Linked DNA regions of Homo sapiens: all the other regions are linked to region 2. The links are contacts of gene promoters, found by promoter capture Hi-C in blood cells and fetal thymus (Javierre and others, 2016). All regions are on one chromosome and are shown on one strand. The core of a region is centred on a gene start or on the middle of the fragment in contact, and the rest is flanking DNA. Distances in the headings are between cores, read along the strand shown. Region 1 holds the start of CAMK1 (calcium/calmodulin dependent protein kinase I). Region 2 overlaps FANCD2 (FA complementation group D2). Region 3 holds the start of TADA3 (transcriptional adaptor 3). Region 4 holds the start of MTMR14 (myotubularin related protein 14).

What was found. The method cuts DNA at HindIII sites, captures the fragments that hold promoters and counts their contacts. A CHiCAGO score of 5 or more calls a contact.
Region 1: a contact is called between the fragment with the promoter of CAMK1 here and a fragment that was not itself captured in region 2, in 1 of 17 cell types (monocytes). The highest score is 5.5, in monocytes.
Region 3: the fragment with the promoter of TADA3 here is called in contact with a fragment that was not itself captured in region 2 in 3 of 17 cell types (naive CD8 T cells, neutrophils and erythroblasts); the score reaches 5.3 in naive CD8 T cells.
Region 4: the fragment with the promoter of MTMR14 here is called in contact with a fragment that was not itself captured in region 2 in 1 of 17 cell types (neutrophils); the score reaches 5.2 in neutrophils.

Annotation. Positions count from the first base shown.
Region 1 is chr3:9,768,369-9,771,271 of GRCh38, reverse strand. It overlaps CAMK1 (calcium/calmodulin dependent protein kinase I), which reads left to right and starts at 1,325. Exons shown (of 12, transcript NM_003656.5): 1 at 1,325-1,440. It also overlaps a transcript of OGG1 not described here. RefSeq lists a silencer at 1,375-1,554. The HindIII fragment of the contact is 10,493 bases long and covers 1-2,673 here.
Region 2 is chr3:10,076,188-10,079,130 of GRCh38, reverse strand. FANCD2 (FA complementation group D2) reads right to left here. Exons shown (of 44, transcript NM_001018115.3): 30 at 934-1,050. Among named protein-coding and RNA genes, the nearest start is that of FANCD2OS, 31 kb to the left of the region's middle. The HindIII fragment of the contact is 8,985 bases long and covers 1-2,943 here.
Region 3 is chr3:9,790,897-9,793,948 of GRCh38, reverse strand. It overlaps TADA3 (transcriptional adaptor 3), which reads left to right and starts at 1,476. Exons shown (of 9, transcript NM_006354.5): 1 at 1,476-1,733; 2 at 2,456-2,689. The coding sequence starts at 2,483. ARPC4-TTLL3 (ARPC4-TTLL3 readthrough) reads right to left here and starts at 1,401. Exons shown (of 12, transcript NM_001198793.1): 1 at 825-1,401. The coding sequence starts at 827. ARPC4 (actin related protein 2/3 complex subunit 4) reads right to left here and starts at 867. Exons shown (of 6, transcript NM_005718.5): 1 at 825-867. The coding sequence starts at 827. It also overlaps a transcript of OGG1 not described here. RefSeq lists enhancers at 202-291, 491-1,017, 992-1,091, 1,018-1,544, 2,649-3,052 and silencers at 1,222-1,511, 1,572-1,661. The HindIII fragment of the contact is 10,858 bases long and covers 1-2,896 here.
Region 4 is chr3:9,648,115-9,651,031 of GRCh38, reverse strand. It overlaps MTMR14 (myotubularin related protein 14), which reads right to left and starts at 1,527. Exons shown (of 19, transcript NM_001077525.3): 1 at 1,290-1,527. The coding sequence starts at 1,448. RefSeq lists silencers at 1,363-1,462, 1,563-1,672 and enhancers at 1,544-1,713, 1,000-1,895, 1,703-1,932. The HindIII fragment of the contact is 16,951 bases long and covers 1-2,917 here.

The DNA of each region.
Region 1 (2,903 bases), core at 76-2,575, 310 kb after region 2:
GGGAGGATTGCTTGAGCCCAGGAGTTTGAGACCAGCCTGGGCAATATAGTGAGATCCCCATCTCTACAAAAAATAAAAAAGCCAGGTGTGGTGGCACGCACCTGTAGTCCCATCTACATGGGAGGCTGAGGTAGGAAGATGACTTGAGCCCAGGAGTTTGAGGCTGCAGTGGGCCGTGATCATGCCATTGCACTCCAGCCTGGGTGACAGAGCAAGACCCTGTCTTAAAAAAAAAAGAAAAAGAAAAAAAGAAGAAGAGAAAGAAAGAAAAAAGAAAGAAAGAAAGAGAAAAAGGAAATGAGCTGGGCATAAGCACTGTTCTCTCCCCATCACCAGCTGGAACATGCAAGAATTCAGGAGTAGGGAGTGGCACTTGGAGGCCCTTGGAGGTGGAGTGGGGTCCCAAGCAACGTGCCTCCTCCGGCTGCCCCCAGTTCAGCCCCATCCCCAATTCCTGCGAGTTGCTCCCCCCGCCCCCTCTTTCCACTCGGCACCAAATTTCTTCCCAAGGAAGGCCTTGAGCAAACCGACCTTTGGCCTCTTGCCTGCCGTCCTAGTTGCAGGCTCTCTCCCCTAACCTGGACCCCAGCCATCAAACTCTGGAGCCCCGCCAGTCACGTGACACCTCGGTCCTTTTTGGCCTGTTTCCTTCAGGATCCCGATTTAACTTCCTCCTCCCCAATTCCCTCTGCCCCCAATACCTCTAGGCACCACCACCCGCTCTGAGGAGCAAGTGTCTGGGGCTGAAGCCTCAGCTCCATCTTGCAGAGGAACCGGGGCCTCAGTCTTCCCACCTGTCAAGTGGGGCCCACACCCTGCGACCACCTCCACTCTCTTCATTGCCTAGTCTTGCCCGGTCCTTCCCCACTCCCTCACTCCCCCATCCCCCACCAGACTCCCGTGCAGTTCCAGGGCCTGTTTCCCTTCAGGGCACGGAGAAGGGAGACAGAGCCCTAAGGGAGGTCGCAGAACTGGTCTGAAAGAAAATCCACCAGGCCACAGGGTGAGTTTGGCCGGCCTCTAGCTTCAGACAGACGGGGTTCGAATCCTGCTTTGCTTCCGACCACCCGCTGATTTGAAAATCATCTCTCCGGGCCTCAGTTGTCCCCTCTGTGAAATGGACCCCGCTTAAGACCAAGGGCGGGAAGCGTCCAGCAGGAGATCTCTGACCAGAAGCAGGGAGATGGCCTCCACCCGTGCCCCTTCCCCAGCCTTGGAGCGGTGCCTCGCCTCCCAATCCCGGGTCCCTCCGCCGCAGGCTCCACCTCCACTGACATCAGAGCCGCAGGCGGGCGGAGAGAGCCGCCGAGCCGAGCCGAGCCCCAGCTCCAGCAAGAGCGCGGGCGGGTGGCCCAGGCACGCAGCGGTGAGGACCGCGGCCACAGCTCGGCGCCAACCACCGCGGGCCTCCCAGCCAGCCCCGCGGCGGGGCAGCCGCAGGTACAGCCGGGCCCCCCATCCCTGCACCCCTGGGCGCTGCGTGGGGGCGGTGGGAGCCCCTAGCCTCTGGGTATCCTTTCCCAAGGAGTGGCCACTGGGCACTCTCCCGGGCGGGCTGGACCCTGAGGGGCAGGGCTGGGCCTTTCTCCACCTCTGTCCCAGGCCCAGCAGGTGCCAGGCGGGCCTATGGGACACTGAGTGGGTAATAGAGAAGGGGGCCTGTGTGAGCGCCTTCAGCTGGGCCTGACTGGAAGGGCGTGGGCATTTGGAGGTATCCATGGGGTGGGGGGGCTTGCGGAGTGTACTGTCTTAGGACAGGCGTGTGGGTCAGACATGGGTGGAGGATCTGGGAATCTGTGTGTTTTTTGTTCCAGAGGGGTGTCCACGTGTTTTGTGTGCTGGTATTTGGCTCTCAGGGTCTTAAGTCAGAGTTAGGAGGGGGTGTACAATTGTGTACTGAGGATGTTTGGAGTTAGGTGTGTAAGGACTTGGGGTTTGGTTTGGAATACAGGAGCTTCCAGGGGATGGGGTAGAGGAGCTGGAGGGTGTAGGGTACGTCTGGTATATGAGGGTGTGTGTGTGTGTGTCTGGGTGTCATCTTGTGTGGGTGCGGGTGGATGTGTGTTTTGGGGTGTAAGAGGGAGCTGGGTGAGGGATGTTTGGATGGACAGGCAGGTGTTCGGGTGCAGGGCTGTCTGGGGCACTGTGTGGTGTGGACATGTGTGCTGATGTCTGGGAGTACATGTATGATCAGGTGTCACGGGATGTGGATACAAGGCGTACTGGATCTGGGAGGCAGGTGTTTGAGTTCAGGGCTGTGGAGGGGGCTTGGTGTGGCATGTCTGCTACAGGGATGTGTGTGGATCTGTGAGGGTTGTATTTGGTAGGCCTCCATGTGGGTTTCAGACTCTGCCTCTAGAGCTTACACTCGAGTCTCCTTTCCTAGAAGATTCTGCCCCTGGATGGGTGGGCAGGGTCCCCTGGGAAAAAGGTCCTGTTCCAGGAGTGGAATCTCACACCAGAGGCCCTAGTCAGGGCACCTTCTCCTCATTCTCCCTTAGAGAAAAAGAGAGAAGGAAAGTGCTCTCCCTGAGGTCACAAAGCATGCTGGGCTCTGTTTTGGCCTCATCTGTGGATGGGTTGGGAGGCTGTGTTCTCTGAATGGGGCCCATTCTGGCTTCATATTGGAAGTACCAGCCAAGGCCATTCGATGGCCTTTGCCCTCAGCAAGCTTAGCTGGGGGCCCCAGGCCAGGTGTCATTAGGGCCTCTGGAGCCAGCCTCTACCTAACTCCAACCTCAGTCTCCCCATTCTTCATCTGATAAATGGGAGAGAACTCCCACCCTCTCCTGCTGGATGAGACAGACCTCAGCAGAGGAAGGGCCAGGCTGGATAGGGTTAGATGGGGCCAGGAAGGGACAGAGTGAGCAGGACCATTTCTCATGCTCCCGGGACCCAGATGG
Region 2 (2,943 bases), core at 368-2,867:
CTGGGACTACAAGCATGCGCCACCATACCTGGCTAATTTTTTTTGTATTTTTAGTAGAGACAGGCTCTTGCCACGTTGGCCAGGCTGGTCTCAAACTCCTGACCTCAGGTGATCCACCTGCCTCGGCCTTCCAACGTGCTGGAATTACAGGTGTGAACCACTGCACAGGTAGACTTTTTTTTTTGTTTGAGACGAAATCTGTCACCCAGACTGGAGTGCACTGGTGCAATCTCAGCTCACTGCAACCTCCTCCTCCCCATGCCTCAGCCTCCCAAGTAGCTGGAACTATAGCTGCACCACCATGCCCGGCTAGTTCTTTTTGTATTTTTAGTAGAGATGGGGTTTCACCATGTTGGCCAGGCTGGTCTTGAACTCCTGAACTCAAGTGATCTGCCCTCCTTGGCCTCCCAAAGTGCTGGCATTACAGGCGTGAGCCACCACGCCCAGCCTTCAGACTTCCTATTTAAAGCAAGATGAGGCCGGGCGCGGTGGCTCATGCCCGTAATCCCAGCACTTTGGGAGGCCAAGGTGGGCGGATCACAAGGTCAGGAGATTGAGACCATCCTGGCTAACACGGTGAAACCCCGTCTCTACAAAAAATACAAAAAATTAGCCAGGCGTGGTGGCAGGCACCTGTAGTCCCAGCTACTCGGGAGGCTGAGGCAGGAGAATGACATGAACCCGGGAGGCGGAGCTTGCAGTGAGCCGAGATCACACCACTGCACTCCAGCCTGGGCGACAGAGCGAGACTCCATCTCTAAATAAATAAATAAATAAATAAAGCAAGATGAATATTGTCTGGCAATACGGCTGCACCCATGCTACCCAGTGACCCAAACACAATGCCAAAGAAAGTGACAACTTTTTCATCATAATACCTCCTTTGTTCCCAAATCCACTATGCCCAAGTCCTATGCTTCTGCCTACACTAACCTTGAGAAAGGGGACTCTCCTGGCAATAGGAGGTGTCAGCATACTCTCCAGCTTCTGGGAGAGATCTTCCAGCAAGAAAAGCAGCTCAGGGGGCCCAAGTTGCACAACTTCTGTAGCCTGTCACATGGAGGAAAGGATTAGTTCCAGGAATGTCCTAGTCATTTCATGATAATTTTTTTTCTTTCTTTTTTGTTAAATGTGCAGTGGCAAGATCATAGCTATTCCAGCCTTGAACTCCTGGGCCCAAGTTATCCTCCCATCTCAGCCTCCCGAGTAGCGGGGACTATAGGCACACACAACCATGCCCAGCTACATTTTTTTTTTTAATTAATAAGAAATGAGGTCTCACTATATTGCCCAAGCTGGTCTCAAACTCCTGGGCTCAGATGATCCTTCTGCCTTGGCCTCCCAATATGCCAGGATTACAGGTATGAACCACCACACCTGGGCCCAGCGAATTTTTAAATTTTTTTATACAGACGGGGTCTCACTTTGTTGCCCAGGCTGGTTTCAAACTCCTGGGCTTGAGCAATCCTCCTGCCTTGGCCTCCCAAGGTATTGGGATTATGGACAGGCATGAGCCACCACACCTGGCTATTTCATGTTAATACTTCCCAATGGGTGAAAAAAAAATTTTTTTTTTGAGACAGAGTCTTGTTCCGTCACCCAGGCTGGAGGGCAGTGGCATGATCTTGGCTCACTACAACCTCTGCGTCCCAGGTTCAAGCAATTCTCCTGCCTCAGCCTCCCAAGTAGCTGGCATTACAGGTGCCCACCACCATGCCTGACTAATTTTTGTATTTTTAGTAGAAATGGGTTTCATCACGTTGGCCAGGCTAGTCTCAAACCCGACCTCAGGTGATAACGCCTGTCTCAGCCTCCCAAAGTGCTGTGATTAGAGGCGTGAGCCACTGCGCCCAGCAGGGTAAATAATTTGACTTTTATTTATTTATTTACTTATATTTGAGACAGGGTCTCGCTCTGTTGCTCAGGCTGGAGTGCAATATTGTGTTCACAGCTCACTGCAGCCTCAACCTCCTGGACTCAAGTGATGGTCCCACCTCAGCCGCCCAGGTAGCTGGGATCACAGGTGTGCGTCACCATGCCTGGCTACTTTTTTTTTTTAACTTTTTGTAGAGACAGGTCTCACTGTGTTACCCAGGCTGGTCTCAAACTCCCAGTACTTTGGGAGGTCAAGGCAGGCAGATCATTTGAGGTCAGGAGTCTGAGACCAGCCTGGCCAATGTGGTGAAATCCCATCTCTACTAAAAATACAAAAATTAGCTGATGTGGTGGTGGGCACCTGTAATCCCAGCTGCTTGGGAGGCTGAGGCAGAAGAATCGCTTGAGCTCAGGAGGCAGAAGAATCACTTGAGCTCAGGAGGCAGAGGCTGCAGTAAGCCAAGATCGTGCCACTGCACTCCAGACTGACGGACAGAGCAAGACTCCGTCTCCAACAAACAAACAAACAAATAAAAAAACTAGCCGGGTGTAGTGGGGCATGCCAGTGGCCCTAGATACTTGGAAGGCTGAGGTGGGAGGATCACTTGATCCTTGAACCCAGGAGTTCAAGGTTGCAGTGAGCTATGATCTTGCCACTGCACTTCAGCCTGGGTGACAGAGCAAGACTCTGTCTCTAAAAAGAAAAAAGAGGCAAGGGAGGAAACTGCACCCATCTCATATAAAGGATAGCTATTATGCTCTGTCATATAATAAAGTCAAGCATGTCCAAAATAAATATTCAGAATAGTAAAATAATAATTCAAGACAGGATAGTTTAGAAGACATACTTTTTCTCTATAAATTCCTCTGTATACCTTTCTAGTTGTGGATCCAAGATGCGTTTCCTAAATATCCTGTGATTTAAAAAATGACTTTGAATGCCACACACAGGGTTTGGGAAAAAAAAAAAAGACTAATTCAAGGGAATTTCCCTTTTGTCTGTTCATTAAATAATCCTTTCATACTTGTTTTCCTCTAATGTTTTGCTACTATTAACTCTGGGCAGGA
Region 3 (3,052 bases), core at 227-2,726, 290 kb after region 2:
TCTCTTCAAGATATCCAGGCAAACCTTGAAAGAGAGCTGAGAAGCCAGATTAGGAGTCATCAGAATGAAGAAAGTTATCGAAGCCAGGAGACTAGATCGGTATCACCAGGGAAGGTGTGACGAAGAGGGAGATGGTCATCCAAAGTCACAACTCCCAGGAATGCCCACACGTATGAAAAAGGCCCACATGTATGAAAAAGGCCCACATGTATGAAAAAGGGAGGACTTCCAGGAAGGGAGGGATGAGCAGTATCACAGCTAACATACACTAAGGCTGACACAGTTCAGTTCTGACCAGGAAGGGCCTGAATGGAAGCAACACGAGAGATCCTCCAATGGGGTGGAAGCAGGGCTGGAGGTACCAAGAATGGGATAAGGAAGTGTGGCCGCCTGCCTTAAGCAACTGTAGGGTCAGGAAGGCAGAAGAGGACAAAGGGCGTATGTCGTGAAGTTCCACTGTGGATAGGCAGGTGGACTTGCTTCATGCCTCAGAGGCTAAGAGGCCGACTACGTACCCTCGAAATGCTCCAAAGAGCCTAGGAGACCCCACTTCCGGGTTCCTACAGGGCTCAGGAAAAGCCCCTACCTGCTTCGAAGGCTGACCGTGAAGCCACAAGGCCCACTTCATACCAGGGAGTACCCCCACTCGCCCCTTCCTCACCTCGGGCCCCCGCCCCGTCTCTTTTTCCCACCCTCATCGTGTCCCCACAACCCCCGGACATCCCTCGGCCCCGCGCCCCTGCGGCAAAGCCACATCTCCCACCGACCCACTGCCCTGAGGCCGAACAGCCGGGGGTCCCTGGCCGGGGGCCCGGCTCTCTCACCATCGCGGGCGCTGGCTGGGCCGGAAAGCGGAAGTACGGAAGTGGCCAGCCCCGCGATGCCTGCCCTTTCGCGAGAAGCGCAGCTACGGTCTCCGCCCGGACTTCCGGACGGTACCATCTATGCTCCGAGCGGGGTAGAGAGCCCTTACGAACGCTTGGGCCTTCCGGAAGTTTTCCACCTAGGGCTGTCTCGGTATTTTTAAATTCTTGCACTCGAGTCACTATTTAAGCTCCTCCAGGAATGGGTGCAGCTTCCCTTTGTGCCTTCGGCCTTCTTGTCACCTTTGCCACAGCCTCCCCCAGGTATGCAATGGTACAGCCCAGCTTCAGATTGGGCACCAAATTAGGACAAGCCGAAGCGGACGAGCCCTTCGTTTCTTCCGGTTCTGTACCCCCATCCTTTCTCTCGCCCCTCCTACCCGCAGCTCCTGGCGCTCGGCGGGGCTAACTGCAGCGCGGAGATCTCGGCCGCCAAGCTCCGCCTCCCGCCCCGGGCTGTGCCCCGGGGCTCGCCTGAGGCCGACCACCCGCACCCCACCTCTAGCGGCTTTGCTCGAGGCCCACCTTCTTCCCACCCCCGGCAAACTCCAGTAGGCTCGCCCTCGCTGACTCCCCGCCCCCGCGTCAACTGCAAGGGGCCCGCCCATAGCCAGTTCCGGGGCGGTTGCTCACATCGACCGGAACTCCCCGCCCCCTCCCGCGGCCCCTGGGGCCGTAGGAGGCCGCAGCGAGGAGGTAGAGGGGGCGGGGGTCGCACTAGGGTGTCCCTAGAGAACGAGGACTCTGAAGGCGGGACATTTGGGCGACCCCCGGGCGGGGCCAGCCATTAAACAGTCCCACTTCTGTGCCAGACACTGAACTGGGCTCTTGACGGGCATCATCTCTTAATCCTCAGAACATCCCAGGGAGGTAGGTACTATTGTTATCCCCATTTTTCAGATTCAGACTTTTAATGGGGAAACAGACCGAGACTTCTTTTGTCCCCATTTTACAGATGGAAAAACTGAGACTGAAAAAGGTCAAATAACATGTTCAGGGGCATATAAGTAGAGAATGGTAAAGCCTGGGCTTGAACCCAGGTCTGTCTGGCTTACCAGCCCACGTTCTAAACCACTGTTAGTGACTAGAGAAGGGAGAAAGGTGGAATAGGGTAAGAAAAGAGGCCAAGAGTCCCAGAGAACATGGTAAGAATGGGGTGCTTGGAACTCAAAGTCTTAGCAGAACCCAAGAGAAATAGAAGGGAAGGAAAGAGCATCAGAAAGGCGAGGCAAGGCATAGCAGTATAGCATGGTGATCAGGGTGCAGACTCAAGACTAGCGGGGTTCAAATTGCATCTTGGAAGCATAGGCACATACCCACCCTTACAGAGTCTCAGTTTCTTTCTCTGTAAAAACGAGATCACAATGGTCCTTGTTCATGGTGCTGAGTGAGAAATTCAGTGAGATAAACTGATAAAGTGCTCTGCACCTAGCTTGGTACCCAGTTAAGTGCCCTGTGAGTAGGAACTGTGCCATCAATTTTGTCAGTAAGGGACTGAAGCTGGGCTTCCTTGAGGCTGTCCCTGGAGGTAAGAAGCCCTTGGGCTTTTCTCAGACCACTTTGTCTCCCATCAATGGCCCTGTCCTCTCCAGCTCCACAGGATCCCCATATCCTGGGCCATGAGTGAGTTGAAAGACTGCCCCTTGCAGTTCCACGACTTCAAGTCTGTGGATCACCTGAAGGTCTGTCCCCGCTACACGGCAGTGCTGGCACGCTCTGAGGATGATGGCATCGGCATCGAGGAGCTGGACACCCTGCAGCTGGAGCTGGAGACCCTGCTGTCTTCTGCCAGCCGGCGCCTGCGTGTGCTTGAGGCCGAAACCCAGGTGATAACCCCAGAGAGGGGCCAGCACCAGAGATGGACTGCAACAAGTTATGGGATGGGTCATTGAGTTAGCCCCATATGCTGAGACTTGGGGTACAGGGGTTTGTGGGGAGAGGGAGAGAGACGCAAACTGGGTTTGCATGACACAAAAAATACACAAGAATATGCATGATCCTCTTAAATTGCAAGATTTCTAATTCAGTAAGCTTTTATTGGCACCCCACTCATCCCCCATTGTGTTCTGGGTCCTATGCTAGTCATTAGAGAAAGGTAATTAGGACAGTTATGGCTGTCAGGGAGCTTGGCAACTAGGAAAGTGAGAAAGTCAAGTACATACCAGGTGATGTGATGTTGTGGTTAGCAG
Region 4 (2,917 bases), core at 278-2,777, 430 kb after region 2:
GATCACCTGAGCTCAGGAGTTCAAGACCAGCCTGGCCAACCTGGGGAAACTCCATCTCTACTAAAAACTACAATAATTAGCTGGGCGTGGTGGTGGGGTCCTGTAATCCCAGCTACTTGGGAAGTTGAGGCAGGGAGAATTGCTTGAACTGGGGAGGCGGAGGATGCAGTAAGCTGAGATTGCGCCACTGCACTCCAGCCTAGGCGACAAAGCGAGACTCCTTCTCAAAAGAAAAAAAAAAAAAAAGCAAATTCCAGGATCCCACCCCCAGAAATTCTGACTTGGTAGGACTGGGTGGGACTAAGGAATCTCTGTTTTCACAAAGTATCCCATAAGCACAAATTTTAAAAGTACCCCAGATGATCATTAAACAGGTGGTCCCCAGACTATACTTGGAAAAATTACTTGGCCATTTGGAGAGTGAGGAAGTCCAATCCTTACTGAAGTCTTCCCTGGGTTACTTCAGAGACTACAAGATGCCAACTACAGAATAGCAACTCACGGTAATCTCTGAGGTCAAATCAGAGTTCTGTGGTGCAGGATGGAACAGAATTCCACTGGAAAACTTGGTGCTAAAGCTGCCAAAACCACGTGGGGGAATGAGATGGCAGGGTCGGCAAGATTCCCACCGCACTGCCAGCCAGTGCTTAGGGTGGGGATGGCCTGAGCTGACAGGAAGCCCTCCAGGTCTGGCGATAAGACGACTGGGTGGAAATCCCAAAGGGAGCAAAAAGAGGAACGGAGACCTGCTTTAGATAAAGGAACTGAAAGGGAGTGTGGGTTGTCTTCCTGCTCTATAGGGGAAGGAAAGGGATGGGCCTAAGTCATGCTGAGACCTTATAAGGGGGCAGCACACTGGGTTCACCTCCTGGCTCCATTCTGACCTCTGACCCCGAGGAATCGTCTCCCTATTTTTCTTAGCTTTTTCTTGGGGCTTTTTCCCTGACACAACTCATCCTACGGCACCTGAAGCAGGGAATAGACCTTCCTTAGGTCCTCCTCTCTGATCTTTGAACCTGGCCCCTCAGCTTGATCTCTCACCTCCAGACCCCTTCTCAAACAAGAAGGACCTCTTTGCTGGGCTCATTCTGACCCCAGTTCCTCCTTTTATGGTTGTCAAGACCGACTCTTATACTCCGGATACAGACCCTGGAGAACTCCTCTCTCTCTCTCCTCTTCCTCAGCGGCGAGGTACCACTCCTACCTTTTTCTGACCCCTGGCCTCAGCCTTTCCTCTGTAACTTCCCAAGTTAGGAGCCTTCCCCAGCTCATCGCACCTCCAATCTCACCTTAGAGCCGCCGGTCCCGCTGCCATCCTTGGCCCGGTACTGAGTCCGGGAGAACTCCTCCAGCAGCTCCCCAAGCCCCAGCTCCTGAGGCGGCTGGTTGCCTGAAGAGGCCGAGGACCCCGCCGAGGCAGCGGCGGCGGCGGCCCGAGCGCCGGCCATGGCCCAGCCCCGCGTCCCCTCAGTGTGCCTCAAGCGGGCCCATGGCACCTGCCTGCACCCAACTCCGACACTAGAACCTCCGGAACCGCCTCAGCCACCGCCTTCTACTTCCACTTCCACTTCCGGCCCCGCCCCGTCCCGCCGGATGTTTACTCCGACTCTGGCCAATCGGAGCTCTGGACCCGCGCCCCGCCTACGATTACTGGCCCGCCCCCGGCGCAGAGCGATCCTTCTATCCACCAGGGAGGCCACTGGCTGATACCGCGTGATCCGCCCCAAGGGGTTTCCCCCGGGGAAGCCGGGCTCAACCATTGGGCTGCCGGGGGAGGGGGGTAGCAGGAAGGAACCATTGAAAAGAACCAGAGGAAAAGTGGAATCAACAATTACAGGGAAGCCGAGCGTGGTGGCTCACACCTGTCATCCCAGCACTTTGGGGGGCCGAGGCGGGCGGATCACTTGAGGCCAAGAGTTCGAGACCAGGCTGCCAAAATGGTGAAACCGCATCTCTACTAAAAATAAAAAAATTAGCCGGGCATGGTGACACCCACCTGTAATCCCAACTACTTGGGAGGCTGAGGCAGGAGAATCGCTTGAACCCATGAGGCTGAGGTTGCAATGAGCCGAAATCGAACCACTACACTCCAGCCTGGGTGACAGAGCAATACTCTGTCTTAAGAAAAAAAAAAAATTACAGGGCGAGGAGGAGAGAACGCTTGGAGGCAACAAATTAGTACTAGAAACCATAATGGCAGTGGTTACCAATATTAAAACATTTCAGCCGGCCGCGGTGTCTCACGCCTGTAATCCCAGCACTTTGGTAGGCCGAGGCAGGCGGATTATGAAGTGAGGCATTCGAGACCAGCCTGATCAACGCAGTGAAACCCCGTCTCTACTAAAAATACAAAAATTAGCCGCGCGTGGTGGCAGGTGCCTGTAATCCCAGCTACTCGGGAGGCTGAGGCAGGAGAATTGCTTGAACCCGGGAGGCGGAGAGTGAGCCGAGATCGCGCCACTGCACTCCAGCCTGGGTGACAGAATGAGACTCCGTCTCTAAAACAAAAACAAAAACACAACATTTCATAAAACCCTTTCTCCCCCTGCTGCTCACAACATCCCTGTGAGTACAGTGCATTATATCATCAGCCCTATTTTATTGAGGTAGAAACTGGGAGTCAGGGAGGTGAAGCGACTGCCTTGAAATTCTGTGATGAGAAGCCTCTCATTATTATTATTATTAGAATATTTCAGACATTCGCAAAAGTGGAGACAATAGTATAATGAACCCTCATGTACCCATTAACTGGTTTTGAACAATAATCAACATCTGCTTATCTATCCTGTTTAAGCAGTCCCTTCCCATCCAGGGAATTATTTTAAAGCAAATCCCAGACATCACATTATTTCAGCTGTGAATACTTAAGCATTTATCACAACAGATTTGTACTTCAAAAAAAAAATACATAAAAAAT